Linked DNA regions of Homo sapiens: region 2 is linked to region 1. Evidence: promoter capture Hi-C in human tissues and cell types (Jung and others, 2019). All regions are on one chromosome and are shown on one strand. Each heading gives the region's core, a stretch centred on a gene start or on the middle of the fragment in contact. The rest is flanking DNA. Distances are from core to core; before and after follow the strand shown. Region 1 holds the start of LURAP1 (leucine rich adaptor protein 1). Region 2 overlaps P3R3URF-PIK3R3 (P3R3URF-PIK3R3 readthrough).

Region 1 (6,665 bases), core at 1,062-3,561:
CAGGAGGCTGAGGCAGGAGAATGGCTTGAACCTGGGAGGCAGAAGTTGCAATGAGCCAAGATGGTGCCACTGCACTCCAGCCTGGGCAACAGAGCCGGACTCTGTCTCAAAAAAAAAAGACAAATGTTTTGTCTATCTCTAACTTAAAACCCTTCCATGGATCAAAAAGTACCAAGGAAAATGATGTTACTTAAAATTATAAAGGTAGGCCAGGCATGGTGGCTCATGCCTGTAATCCCAGCACTTTGGGAGGCTAAGGTGGGAGGATTGCTTGAGGCCAGGAGTTCGAGACCAGCCTGGGCAACATAGCGAGACTCTATCTAAATTTTAAAAAAAGTTAATTACAAAGGTAACCTTAGATGAACTAAAAAGAGTGATAGAAATATGTAGTGCCAGGCCGGGCGCAGTGGCTCACACCTGTAATCCCAGCACTTTGGGAGGCTGAGGCAGGCAGATCACGAGGTCAAGAGTTCGAGACCAGCCTGACCAACATGGTGAAACCCCCGTCTCTACTAAAAATACAAAAATTAGTCGGGCATGGTGGCACGTGCCTGTAATCCCAGCTACTCAGGAGGCTGAGGCAGGAGAATCGCTTGAACCCAGGAGGGCAGGTTGCAGTGAGTCAAGATCGTGCCACTGCACTCCAGCCTGGGCGACAGAGTGAGACTCCATCTCAAAAAAAAAAAAAAAAAGAAAAAAGAAAGAAAAGAAAAGAAATATATATTGCCAATGGGGGAAAGGAACTACAGAGTGTGAGTTAAACCCATATATCCATATTTATCTGAATAGGACAATAAACAGCAGATGAATGTTTAAAATTGAGAAGTAGTGTGGCTGGGCATGGTGGCATACTCCTGTAGTCACAGCTGCTTGGGAGGCAGGAGGATTGCTTGAGCCCAGGAGTTTGAGTCCAGCCTGGGCAATGTAGGAAGACCCTGTCTCTAAAAAAGAAAAAATAGTGGTAGGATTTACAATAAGAGGATAGTTACTCCTACCCTACCCTTTCACACCTCTAGGCCCACTCCCAATTGGCAACCACTTTTAGTTAACTCTAAACAATAACGTTATGGGTATGAACACCAAAAGAAAAAAAAAAACTAAAAGTTATTTTTTGCCAATTGGGAGTGGGCCTAGAGGTGTGAAAGGGTAGGGTAGGGGTAACTATCTTCTCATTGTAAATCCTTCTGCAACCATGGGCTGGAATTACTTGAATTAAAAGCCTAAACAAACCAGAGTTTTCATGGCTGTTCATTACCTGTTAAATAAAACCCAAACATCTCAGAACCATTTTCTGTAACCTTGTTACTCAAAGTGTGGTCCCTTATTACTTGAAGTGTGGACCAGCAGCATGGCCATCACCTGGGAGCTTATTAGAAATGCAGGATCTTGGCTGGGCGCAGTGGCTCACACCTGTAATCCCAGCACTTTGGGAGGCCAAGGCAGGCGGATCACTTGAAGTCAGGAGTTCAAGACCAGCCTGGCCAACATGGTGAAACCCTGTCTCTACTAAAAATACAAAAATATTAGCTGGGCATGGTGGCGCATGCCTGTAATCCCAGCTACTCAGGAGGCAGAGGCAGGAGAATTGCTTGAACCCAGGGAGGCAGAGGTTTGTAGTGAGCCAAGATCGCGCCACCACGCTACATCCTGGGCGACAGAGCGAGACTCTGTCTCAAAAAAAAAAAAAAAAAAAAAAAAAAAATGCAGGATCTCAAGCCCCACCCCAGATTTACAAAATCAGAACCTACATTTTAACAAGATCCGCAGATAATTCATACGCACAGTCAAGCTTAAGGAGCATCTTGCTTGTAAGCCCAACGTGGACCTCTTCAGCTTCAGTACTGGTTGCCCTTTTCTACTCCGTTAGCCTGAATTCTAGCCCCTGGGGGGGGGGGGTGGTGTGTGTGTGTGTGTGTGTGTGTGTGTGTGTGTGTGTCTAGCTAAAATCCAGTCATCGTTTTATACCCAATTCCTCTGCTCCAGGAAGACTTCCAAGCCCTCTGCAGCTCTCTGTTACCGCTGTTCCTTAAACTCCCACATCTCTGACTGAAGCTGCTTAGACTTCATTCTGCAAACATGTATTGGGCGCCTGCTGTGTGCCTGGCTGGATTCAGTGCCAGGGTGGGGCGAAGGCGCTGAGGTCTCCGAGTGCTCTTTCAGGTCCAACTCCAGAATCGCCCAGCCCCACGCAATCCAGGGCCAGAGGTTGTGTGCGCAGCACTCGAATACATCCACAGACGGTGCTGCGCGGCTTTTCTGAGTGTTACGGCGCCCTCCTCCCGCCCCCGCGCCGCGCGGGCGGGGACCCACCGGTTTTGCTCCGCTTTAGCAGCGGCGAAGGGAGGACCCCCGGGAGCCGGTCCCCGGCGTCCGGTCGCCCAGCCCTTTTCAGGCTTGGGCCCGCATGGAGGGGACCGTGGAGTCCCAGACGCCTGACCTGCGGGATGTGGAGGGTAAGGTGGGCAGGAAGACCCCTGAAGGGCTGCTCCGCGGGCTGCGAGGCGAGTGTGAGCTGGGAACCTCTGGCGCCCTGCTGCTCCCAGGGGCGTCTAGCACCGGCCACGACTTGGGGGACAAGATCATGGCGCTGAAGATGGAGCTGGTGAGTGCTGAATCCATGGGCCAAGGGGACGAGTCCCTAGTGTAGGGCCGGGAGGGACGAACTCATGCTCCCAGAGTTAAGCTGGAGAGGAGGTAGTTAAAACTCTCCACCTAACTGCTCAGAATCCCTCCCAGATCAATCCGTAAACGCTGGGGTGGAGATGGAGTGACGTCCATTACTTGTCCCCCAAGAGTGAGTGGGGTGTTGATGGTCCTGAGGACTTGGGTTGGGAGCAGTGGGTTTTGGAAGTTATTCCTGCCAAATAATTGGGAGGAGAGAGATGAGGACTGGGAAGTACTGAGAACCCAACGCAGCACAAATTCCCCCCGCCTGTATGGGCCACCTATTCCCCGCCAGTCCCCGTTGTAAGGCAACCGGTTTTTTCTCCTTCTGCTAACCGGGAAAGGGTTTAAGTTCCTGTGAGGCCGCAGTGTTCCGCACAGAAAAGAAGTGGGTAAAGGGGCCTATCTGCTGAAAACTACCTGGACCAGGGGCACTGAAAACCTTCTCCGTTTCCTCTACATCCCCCAGCCCTACTTAAAATAATGGAAAGTTCCTAGACCCATAGCAGGGACAGAGAGTAGCAGCACCACTGGTGCTGATTCCCTCGCCTCAGACTCAGTCTCCTCCCAGCCAGTCTTCCAGGTAAACTGGATATTTGGATCTCATCTGTACATTCTTGGGGAGAAGAGGAAACAGCAACCCTCCCCTTTCTCTATTGCTGCTGGTCTAGATTCAGAGCCAAAAGGGCAGCCGAGGCCCTGGCAGGTTCCCCAGGGCCCTGATTCCGGTGAAGTGGGTGATTTACACCTGCCACTACTTTGCAGCCAGTTCTGGGGAACTGAGGAATTGCCATCGGCTTCCTGGCTCACAACCAGGAGCCCACAGTGAGTACGTCAGCTAAAGTCTTCCTGTGTGCCCAGCCTGTGCCAAGCTGGTCTGTGAAGGAGAAGGGGAAGGAAATCATGGGGGCTCTGAGACCAGCCAGGGCTCCGACGCCTGAGCTGAGAGGCTGGGAAGAGAGTCTGGTGGGTGGAGCAGTCAGGAAAGGCCCCCTGGGAGAAGGACTTGAATGCCAAGTGTGCACTTGGCCTTGAAGGTTGGAGGTGAGTGCCCAATTCTCCAGAGCAAGGCTGTGACTGTACCCACCTAAGCGGGGGCTTGCCTTTGCCTCACTGTACAAACTTTAGCTCAAGGCCTAGTAAGAGCCTATCTAGACTGTCTACTTGCTTTGAAAACTTTCACCCAGTGCATGTGCCAGGCAGCTTGCTGAGCACTTTACATGATGCTCTCTTCATCTCCACAGTAACCCTGTTAAGTGATATTTTATAGATGGAGAAACTGAGGCACAGGGTGGGCATGGTGGCTCACGCCTGTAATCCCAGCACTTTGGGAGGCCGAGGCAGGCAGATCGCTTGAGCCCAGGAGTTTGAGACCAGCCTGGGCAACAAAGCAAGACCCTGTCTCTACAAAAAATACAAAAATTAGATGGGTGTTGTGGTGTGTGCCTGTAGTCCTAGCTACTCTGGAGGCAGAGGCAGGAGGATCACTTGAGCCCAGGAAGAGGAGGTTGCAGTGAGCTGAAATCGCACCACTGCACTCCAGCCTGGGTGACAGAGCTCAGAGCTAGACCCTGTCTCAAAAAAAGAAGGGGAAGAAGGGGAGGAAGGGAGGAAGGGAGGGAGGGAGGAGAAAAGAAAAGAAAACAGAGGCACAGGGAGTTTAATAACTGCCCAACATCACGCAAAAAGCAGGGCCATGATTTGAACCCAGATCATCTGACTGCACTTTGCATCTTTACTTTGAGACCTGCTTTGTGCCAGATAGTCTGAACATTTTATGTCATTGAAATGAGAAAACTGGTCATCATTTCTCCCATCTTACAGATAAAACGTGCTTGCAGATTCTGAACTCACATAGGGAGTCAGTGGAAGAGCCACGCCCAGTCTCTGGCTCTCTTCTCTGCCTTGGTGGAAACTATCTGTAAACTTTAAGGGGCTGCATTTAACTTTTGATTTTGTCTCTCTGTATTCTTGACCCAGCTTGCCTGGGGCCTGAGGCTGCCCGAGAAAGGGCACAAGGGAGGGAGCCTTCTGGGGCCAGAATGAGGAGAGATCCCCATCCTATTTTTTCTCCTTCCTCAGGCCAGGATGTTATTAATATTAATCTCTTCTTGTGCTCTGCCCTGCCTACTGGGTTGCACCCAGGAAGGACAAGGGGTGGGGCAAGGGATTTGCCTTCGGGCTACTGAAGGCAGGACTGGTTCAAGCCCTCTAAGGACTGTCCTTCAATTGTTCCTCTCCCAGCTCTCCTTGCACAAAGGGGGAAGGCCTACCCTTGAGGCCAAGGTCAGTCCTGCCTCTAGGCCTCGTCCCTCCTGCTTTCTTCCTCTACCCTCCATTCAAAGGTTGAGTGAACAAGCCAGACTGGGATATGTGGGAATGGGAAACAGTGGCAACTTCTTCTTAGTTCTCCCACCCAAAGAACTGTTGCTATGACAACCCACCTCCACAGAGGCAGTTTGAGAAAAAGCTTTAGGCAAGGAAGAATGCACGGGTTCAAGTCTTGGCTCTGCTTCTGAAACGTTTTGTGGTCTTGAGCAGCACTCTGTCTCTCTCCTGGCCTCAGTTTTTCCTCCTTTTGGTGGAGGGGGTAGAGGGAGATGGGGACTGTGAAACCAGATGATTGTTAAGAACCTTTATAGTAACAATATTCTGATAGTCCCCGCTCTGGGAGCTCGGACTGGGATTTCCAGGCTTTTACCCTAGGGCCTGATTTATATTGAGCAATGAGGAAACCATACAGGACCCCAGCGCTGGGCAGAGAGTCTGGTATGTAGATGTTAAGGAGAGGAGTAGGGAGCCTGAATCTCCTTGGAAGGAGAATTGGGTTTGGAGTCGCCTCTGAGGCTGCATCTCTCCTGAGCTGTTTATCCTATACTCTATTTTCTTCAAGAGATGGTGTGAAAAGAGTGTTTCTTTTTCTGGCAAGAAAACCTTGCTTTCTTCTATTCTGGGAGTGATGCTGTCACAGTCAGGGAATCCCACTGCCACAGGATTATAGAATCTGCTCTCAGATTTATTTCCCAGCAACACACTACAACCCAGACCCCTGAATCCTGGGAACCATCAAAGGGGTCAAGGATAGTAAAGGCAAGAGAATCACAGAACTGAATGTGACCTCCTTAGCACTGGGCCAAGCACCAGAAATGGATTGGGCAGGATCTGCTCTCAGGGAGCTCACAGTCTGGTTAGGGAAGGAGGAGACAGAAGAACATTTCTAGTACAGGATGATAAGTGCTGGTAGAACCCAGGAAGGGCCTCCTGGAAGAGTCTTCACTGTAGAGTGATGTGGTTGGGTTTGTGCTCTAGAAAGTCGATTTCAAATTGGAAGGAGGCACAGGCTGTTTCCTCTGCTTGAAATGCTTCTCTCCACCTCTTTGTCTGGCTGAGTCCTTCTATTTTTTTTTTTTTGACACAGGGTTTCACTCCCATCACCCAGGCTGGAGTGCAATGGTACAATGTCGGTTCACTGCAACCTCTGCCTTCCAAGCTCAAGCGGTTCTCCTGCCTCAGCTTCCTGAGTAGCTGGGACTATGGGCATGTGCCACCACACCTAGCTAGCTTTTGTATTTTTAGTAGAGACGGGATTTTGCCATGTTGGCCAGGCTGGTTTCGAAGTCCTGACCTCAAGTGATCTTCTGCCTCAGCCTCCCAAAGTGCTGGGATTACAGGTGTGAGCCACTGCGCCCATCCTAGCTGAGTCCTTCTTAACCTTAAATTTTCAGCTCATGTCCCTTATCCTAGGAAGCATTTCCTGACCTGGTTAGGTTATGGCCCTCTAGGTATCTACAGTCCTCTGTATAGCAGTTGTTTCCACTAGCGTTTGCCACACTGAACTTTTCTTTCTTTCTTTCTTTCTTTTTTTTTTTTGAGATGGAGTCTCGCTCTGTCGCCCAGGCTGGAGTGCAGTGGTGCGATCTCGGCTCACTGCAAGCTCCGCCTCCTGGGTTCAGCCCATTCTCCTGCCTCAGCCTCCCGAGTAGCTGGGACTACAGGCACCT
Region 2 (6,665 bases), core at 1,135-3,634, 82 kb before region 1:
ATTCCATTCTAGCCATACTGGCCTCCTAGATGATCCCTGAATATATCACAGAGATGCTCCTGCCTCAGGGTAGGTCATCTGATATCCTCTACCTGGAACCCCCATCCTCACACCTGTTATATTTCCATATGACCTGCTCTCCCATTGCTTTAGGTCAGGCCCTCCCTGGCCTCCTATTTAAAATAGCAGATCTCTCACCCTGTACTCTATTTTTATCCTCTGTTTCTTTCTCCACAGCATTTAACACCATCACTAGGTATTTTACTTATGAATTTGTTTATTCTCTGCTCTCCTCACTCCCTTAGAAATGTACAGTCCATGAAGCATTTTTGCTGTTTTGTTCACTACTACACTTAGAATAGTGCCTGGCAGTCAAATATTTGTTGAAAAACATGAATTAACACACAAACAAAAAAAATTTACAGGTGTTTACTATGTTCTAGGTACCACACTAAGTACTTGACAGTTATTAATCTACTAAATCCTCATAACCCTATTGAATGACCATTATCACCCTACTTTTTGGGTGAGGAAACCACAACACAGAAAAGGTAAGTAAATTGCCAAAGGACACATGTTAAGAAGTGGCAGAGGCACAATCTGAACTCAGGCGTTCTGATTCCAGAGACCCCTCTCTTAACTACTCCACTATACTGCCTCTAGATTTCTAACATACTGAGAAAAATCAATACTTAGGCACATCATACATTTTAATTGAAAGATATAATCTACAGGTTACTTTAAAGTAGTATTCCATTTTTTTGTTTTTTTTGAGATAGCCTCACTATGCTGCCCAGGCTGATCTCCAACTCTTGGTCTCAAGCAAAACTCCACCTTGGCCTTGTAAGTAGCTGAGACTACAGGTATGTGCCATTGTAACCAACTCCTAATTTTTTTTTTTTTTTTTTTTTTGAGACAGGGTCTCGCTCTGTCACCCAGGCTGGAGTACAGTGGTATAATCACAGCTCAGCGCAGCCTCGACTTCCAGGGCTCAAGTGATCCTCCCACCTCAGCCTCCCAAGTAGCTGGGACTATAAGAATGCACCACCATGCACAGCTAATTTTTGTATTTTTTGTAAAGACGAGGTTTCTTCATGTTGCCCAGTCTGGACGGCTCCTAATTTTTCAGGCTAGCTTTCAAATCATAAATCATTCCACAGGTCCCAAGTTTACTTAATTTACTGAACTTTAGAATTTTAAGTGTATAGTTTTGCAAAATGTTCTCTTACACTCATTTACTTGCTACACTAACACTATTCCAATGCCTATATTCCTCAAATTAGTTAACTGTAAACCAGAGATGTTAGCTTCCTCATCTTCTAGTAAGCAACCAACAAGATAGAAAAAGGTCTGTCTTATATTAACTCAATACTATGTGACCCTATGAAGTCCAACTTAGAAAATGAAAATGTGGCTGGGCGCGGTGGCTCACGCCTGTAATCCCAGCACTTTGGGAGGCCAAGGTGGGTGGATCACAAGGTCAAGAGATCGAGACCATCCTGACCAACATGGTGAAACCACATCTCTACTAAAGACAAAATTAGCCAGGCGTGGTGGTGGGCGCCTGTAATCCCAGCTACTCAGGAGGCTGAGGCAGGAGAATCGCTTGAACCCGGGAGGTGGAGGTTGCAATGAGCTGAGATCGTGCCACTGCATTCCAGCCTGGCGACAGAGGGAGCCTCCGTCTCAAAAAAAATAGAAAATGAGAATGCATTTCCCACAGCTAGATTTTAACTTTGAAAAAGTAAAAAATAACTTGCTAATACTGTTTATTGACAAAGACAATAACACTGAAGAGAGTTATGGTTTTCCAAATTACTTTCCTAGCATCAATTCTCTCCCTCTTCCTCTTTAACAGAATCTCTCCCCAATACAACCATATACCTCAGTAGAAGCCAACACCATTCCAGATTGAGAAACGTGATTAACCTAAGGGTTATTTACTGGTGACTGGTTCAGGAACTAGCCTATGACCCAATTCTGGCCAAAAAGATGGGAAAGAAGTTTGCTAGAGGTTTTTGTAGAAAGTTTCCTCTATCCAAAAACAGTGGCACAGGAAGAGATACTTTTCCTCTTCTTTTGGAAGTTGTTATTTATGGATATGATATGATGCCTGGAATCACCGCAACCATTTTGCTACTAGCCTGAGGATGAAGCCAGTCCCAAGGATGGCAGAATTGAGCAATATATGGCTAAGCAAAATATGGGTTTATACTGACATTGTTGAACTACTGAAATCAACTAACTCTATTAAATGAGAAGATAAAATTTATTATTTTTAAAGCCATTTTGAATTAGTTCTGTTGCTTGCAGCTGAAAACATATGAATTAAACACTTTTTATAAAATACATCCCAGAACTAATATCAGAAAAAAAGGTTGTGGTTAATTCTATAAATGTCTATTAGAAGTTCAACATAAATTAGACCATATTGAGTGACCCTGTTGTAAAAAGGTCACTCTATCCTCTATGGAAAAAAAAGCTTAATACATATGTAAGAACAGAATCTAAAGCAATATATTTCCAGCACAACAATTCCTTTCAGCAAGACCTTTTTCAGAGCAATTTTCATTCAGATTTTTAATTTTGATTCATAATTGAATTTTTCTTAAGTTTATAAATAAATACGGGTTGGGCACGGTGGCTCACACCTGTAATCCCAGCATTTTGGGAGGCTGCGGTGGGAGGATTGCTTGAGCCCAGGAGTTCGAGACAAGCTTGGGCAACCTGGAAAGACTCTACCTCTATTTAAAAAATAATAAATATTTAAAAATAAATAGTTAATAAATAAAAATTATCACAATATTTAAGATTACACAGTTGCATGCTCTGGATTTGTTGTTACATATCCTCAGGTAAGGATAGGCAATCTGGCCCACAAACAGAACATGAAACAGGAAGTCCAAGTATGGATAAGGGTAGATGGTATTGACTTTGGCTTTGTGTTGGCTCATCAATACCAACTCATAGGGCAGTTTTCATACTGATATGCGACATGCAAAATGGTATGATTTGGCAGGCTGGACGTAGCCTACTGCCTCTTTTATTAAAATAATGAACTTTAAAAATTAGCCAGGTGTGGTGGTGCATGCCTGTAGCCCCAGATACTTGGGAGGCTGAGGTGGGAAGGCTACAGTAACTTGTGATCATGCCAATGCACTCCAGCCTGGGCAACAGAGCGAGACTCCATCTCAAAAATAAAATAAAATAAAATAAAATAAATAAATAAAAGAAAAAGAAAACAATAAGATAACCCTTTTACTTTATGTGAATTTACAAATATGCACAAGGAACAATACATACAACATATATGGGCAAGCAATGTGGAAATTGATCTTTAATAAGGCTTGATGGCTCACTTTACTTGTTAAAAGTCAAGTCTTACACACAGTAAAATTAAGTGGTATAATAACACACTGGATAACTTAAAACTCTCCGTTTGGCCCTGTGTTATTTAAAACTAACCTAATACACTGTGAAAAACTTACTACTCATTTCTTTTTTGAGACAGAGTCTCGCTCTGTCACCCAGGCTGGAGTGCAGTGGCGCGATCTCAGCTTGCTGCAACCTCTGCCTCCAGGGATCAAGCGATTCTCCTGCCTCAGCCTCCTGACTAGCTGGGACTACAGGCGCGCCACCACGCCTGGCTAATTTTTTTATTTTTAGTAGAGATAGGGTTTCACCATGTTGGCCAGGCTGGTCTCGAACTCCTGACCTCAAGTGATCCACCCACCTCGGCACCTCAAAGTGCTGGGATTACAGGTGTGAGCCACCGCGCCCGGCCTATTCATTTCTAATTGTTCAAAGTTTCAAACACAATTTTACTCAGAGCTATATAAATCTTGCTAATAACATTAAGTATTGCATTTTTTTTCATTATTCCCTTTGTTACAATAAGTGCCCAGCCAATTATCTTCATAAGTTTAGAGGTCACATGCTGATAATAAATAATATTAACATTTTAAAGCTTAAGTCACAAAATGAAGCTAGTTGGATCCATGGGCCTAAAATTTAACAAAATACTTGGGCACTGGATGTTTAGGGAAAAAAGATACAAGCTGGGCATGGTGACACATGACTGTAGTCCCAGTTACTCAGGAGGCTAAGGTGGGAGGATCACCTGAGCCCAAGAGTTTAGGCTGCAGTGAGCCACTGCACCCCTCAGTGACAAAATGAGACCCTGTCTCAAAAAAAGAAAAAAGAAAAAAAGATATGAAGGAAATACAACAGCCTGACCTCAAGAAACTTATCTTGTTTGGGAGGTGAATTATATTCATGAAATAATTATCATAATATAACACATGATTCCAAGTCAAAATAACAGAGACAGCCCTACATATAAAAGGGTACAGTGCTAGAATTTTTGGAGAAAGTTTTAAGAAGGAAAGGGGACGCAGACAGGCTCTTGATTTAAAGATGGAGGTGAGACGGGCATATTCTACATAGGAAGCAGCTTAAGCAAAAGCTTGAGATAGGAATGAGCAATCAGGGTATTGGGCTAGAAGGAATTCGACTAGAAGTATGAATAGAAAATTAGTAATAAAGTTATAAATATGTAAGTTAGGTGCCATATTACTAAAGACTATGTATACCAAGTTTAAGAATATTATCTCTACTTAAAAGAAATGAAGAGCTGATTATTTTTGAAAAGAACAGTAAAACAATGAAAATAACATTTCAGTAGAACTAACCTGTCTGAAGAATTTGGGACAAACTTATAGTGAGGGGTAGAAGAAATCGGAAACAGAGCAACCAGTTTAGAGGTACTGGTTAAGAACCTGGGCTTTAGTTAGGCAGATGGACCTGCTCTGCTACTTGGTAAGTTACTAAACCTAAGTCTCAGTTTCCTGTCTGTAGAGTGGGATAATAACAATGCCAATTTTATAAGGTTGTTGTGTGGCTAAAAGAATACATATAAAAGCATTTAACATAGTGCTTGGACTATAATAATTTCTTCAACAAATGTTAGCAACTATTACCTTCATTACAAATCATTTCTAAGGTGAGGTATTGAGGAACTGGACAAGAGGCAATAGAAACTAAAAGGAAAAGATGACTTGGGTTGACATTTCCATAGACTCATGAAACGTTATAACTAGAAAAGACCCTAGAGAACAATTCCAAAACCCAAAATGGATAAAATGTGGCCCCAGTAAACACTGGGAAGGAAGAAAAGAATGGGGCAAAATAGCTCAAAGGTTTTGACTGCAAGAGTACCCAAAGAGGTAGACATGGGATAATTACATGTTTTCAATAAGAAGCTCTAAATACAAGCTACACTTATTTGGTACACAATATATGTCAAATACTATACTAGATATTGATATGGTACATTTAATCCCCACAACTCTACAAAGGTAAGAGTTCAATTTTACAGAAAACAGATGCACAGAGAGGTTTTCTCTGGGCAGGATAAGAAGCAAAGCTAGTTTTGTAATCTATGTCATCTATTTCCAAAGCCTGTGTTCTTTCTACTACACTCAGGCTGTCTCCCCCTTTAATACCAATAAAAAATTATATCATATCACATAGATACATTTATATTTTTCTACCTATCTTGTTAAATATGGCAATCATAAACACGTCCTATCTTTTCTACATTCTAAGAAAAATATAAAAGTATTCATGATCAGCTGGGTGCAGTGGCTCACACCTGTAATCCCAGCACTTTGGGAGGCCGAGGCGGGAAGACCACCTGAGGTTGGGAGTTCGAGACCAGCCTGACCAACATGGAGAAACCCCATCTCTACTAAAAATACAAAATCAGCTGGGCGTGGTGGCACATGCCTGTAATCCCAGCTACTTGGGAGCCTGAGGCAGGAGAATCGCTGGAACCCAGGAGGCGGAGGTTGCGGTGAGCCGAGCTCGCACCATTGCACTCCAGCCTGGGCAATAAGGGTGAAACTCTTTTTCAAAAAAAAAAAAAAAAAAAGGCCGGGCGTGGTGGCTCACACCTGTAATCCTAGCACTTTGGGAGGCCGAGGCGGGTGGATTGCCTGAGGTCAGGAGTTTGAGACCAGTCTGGCCAACATGGTGAAACCCCGTCTCTACTTAAAATACGAAAAATAAGCTGGGTGTGGTGGTACACACCTGTAATCCCAGCTACTCGGGAGGCTGAGGCAGGAGAATTGCCTGAACACAGGAGTCGGAGATTGCAGTGAGCAGAAATCATGCCACTGTACTCCAGACTGGGGGACAAGAGCGAGACTTTGTCTCAAAAAAAATTTTAAAAATTAAAATTAAAATTAAAAAAGCATTCAGCATCAAAACAATGAGAATAAATTTTAAAAGCATTATCAAATGGGAGAATCACCATACTTCTAGTGAAACATAGTTGGATACACTATACATTATAATATATTAAATGAAAGCAATGACTAATCTTTTTCAATAAGAAGACAAAAAAACTGGCATGGCTTTTACATCATTTGATTATATAAGCATTTGTCCCAAACGACAATATCATTAAAAACTGACAACTAGATCATAAAAGAAACATCTTACTACACACAGGAGAAGTATTTATATAAGATGAATCCAAATGTGCAGGGTTAAAAATAAAAATTCAACCACATAAGGCTGCTTAACCTGTTAACAGTAAGGATCATGAAGTGGCAGATGACCTATTTATTCTATGTAGCTCTCAGCAGATATTTTCCCCAACC

The links. The method cuts DNA at HindIII sites, captures the fragments that hold promoters and counts their contacts. A contact is called where the count stands out against the background at its distance.
Region 2: a contact is called between a fragment that was not itself captured here and the fragment with the promoter of LURAP1 in region 1, in 3 of the 25 tissues and cell types used here (IMR-90 fibroblasts, aorta and bladder).

What each region holds. Positions count from the first base shown.
Region 1 is chr1:46,201,023-46,207,687 of GRCh38, forward strand. It overlaps LURAP1 (leucine rich adaptor protein 1), which reads left to right and starts at 2,312. Exons shown (of 2, transcript NM_001013615.3): 1 at 2,312-2,602. The coding sequence starts at 2,405. It also overlaps a transcript of POMGNT1 not described here. RefSeq lists a silencer at 2,233-2,352. The HindIII fragment of the contact is 7,969 bases long and covers 1-6,665 here.
Region 2 is chr1:46,118,884-46,125,548 of GRCh38, forward strand. All of the region lies in intron 1 of P3R3URF-PIK3R3 (P3R3URF-PIK3R3 readthrough), which reads right to left. All of the region lies in intron 1 of PIK3R3 (phosphoinositide-3-kinase regulatory subunit 3), which reads right to left. Among named protein-coding and RNA genes, the nearest start is that of PIK3R3, 10 kb to the right of the region's middle. The HindIII fragment of the contact is 3,664 bases long and covers 553-4,216 here.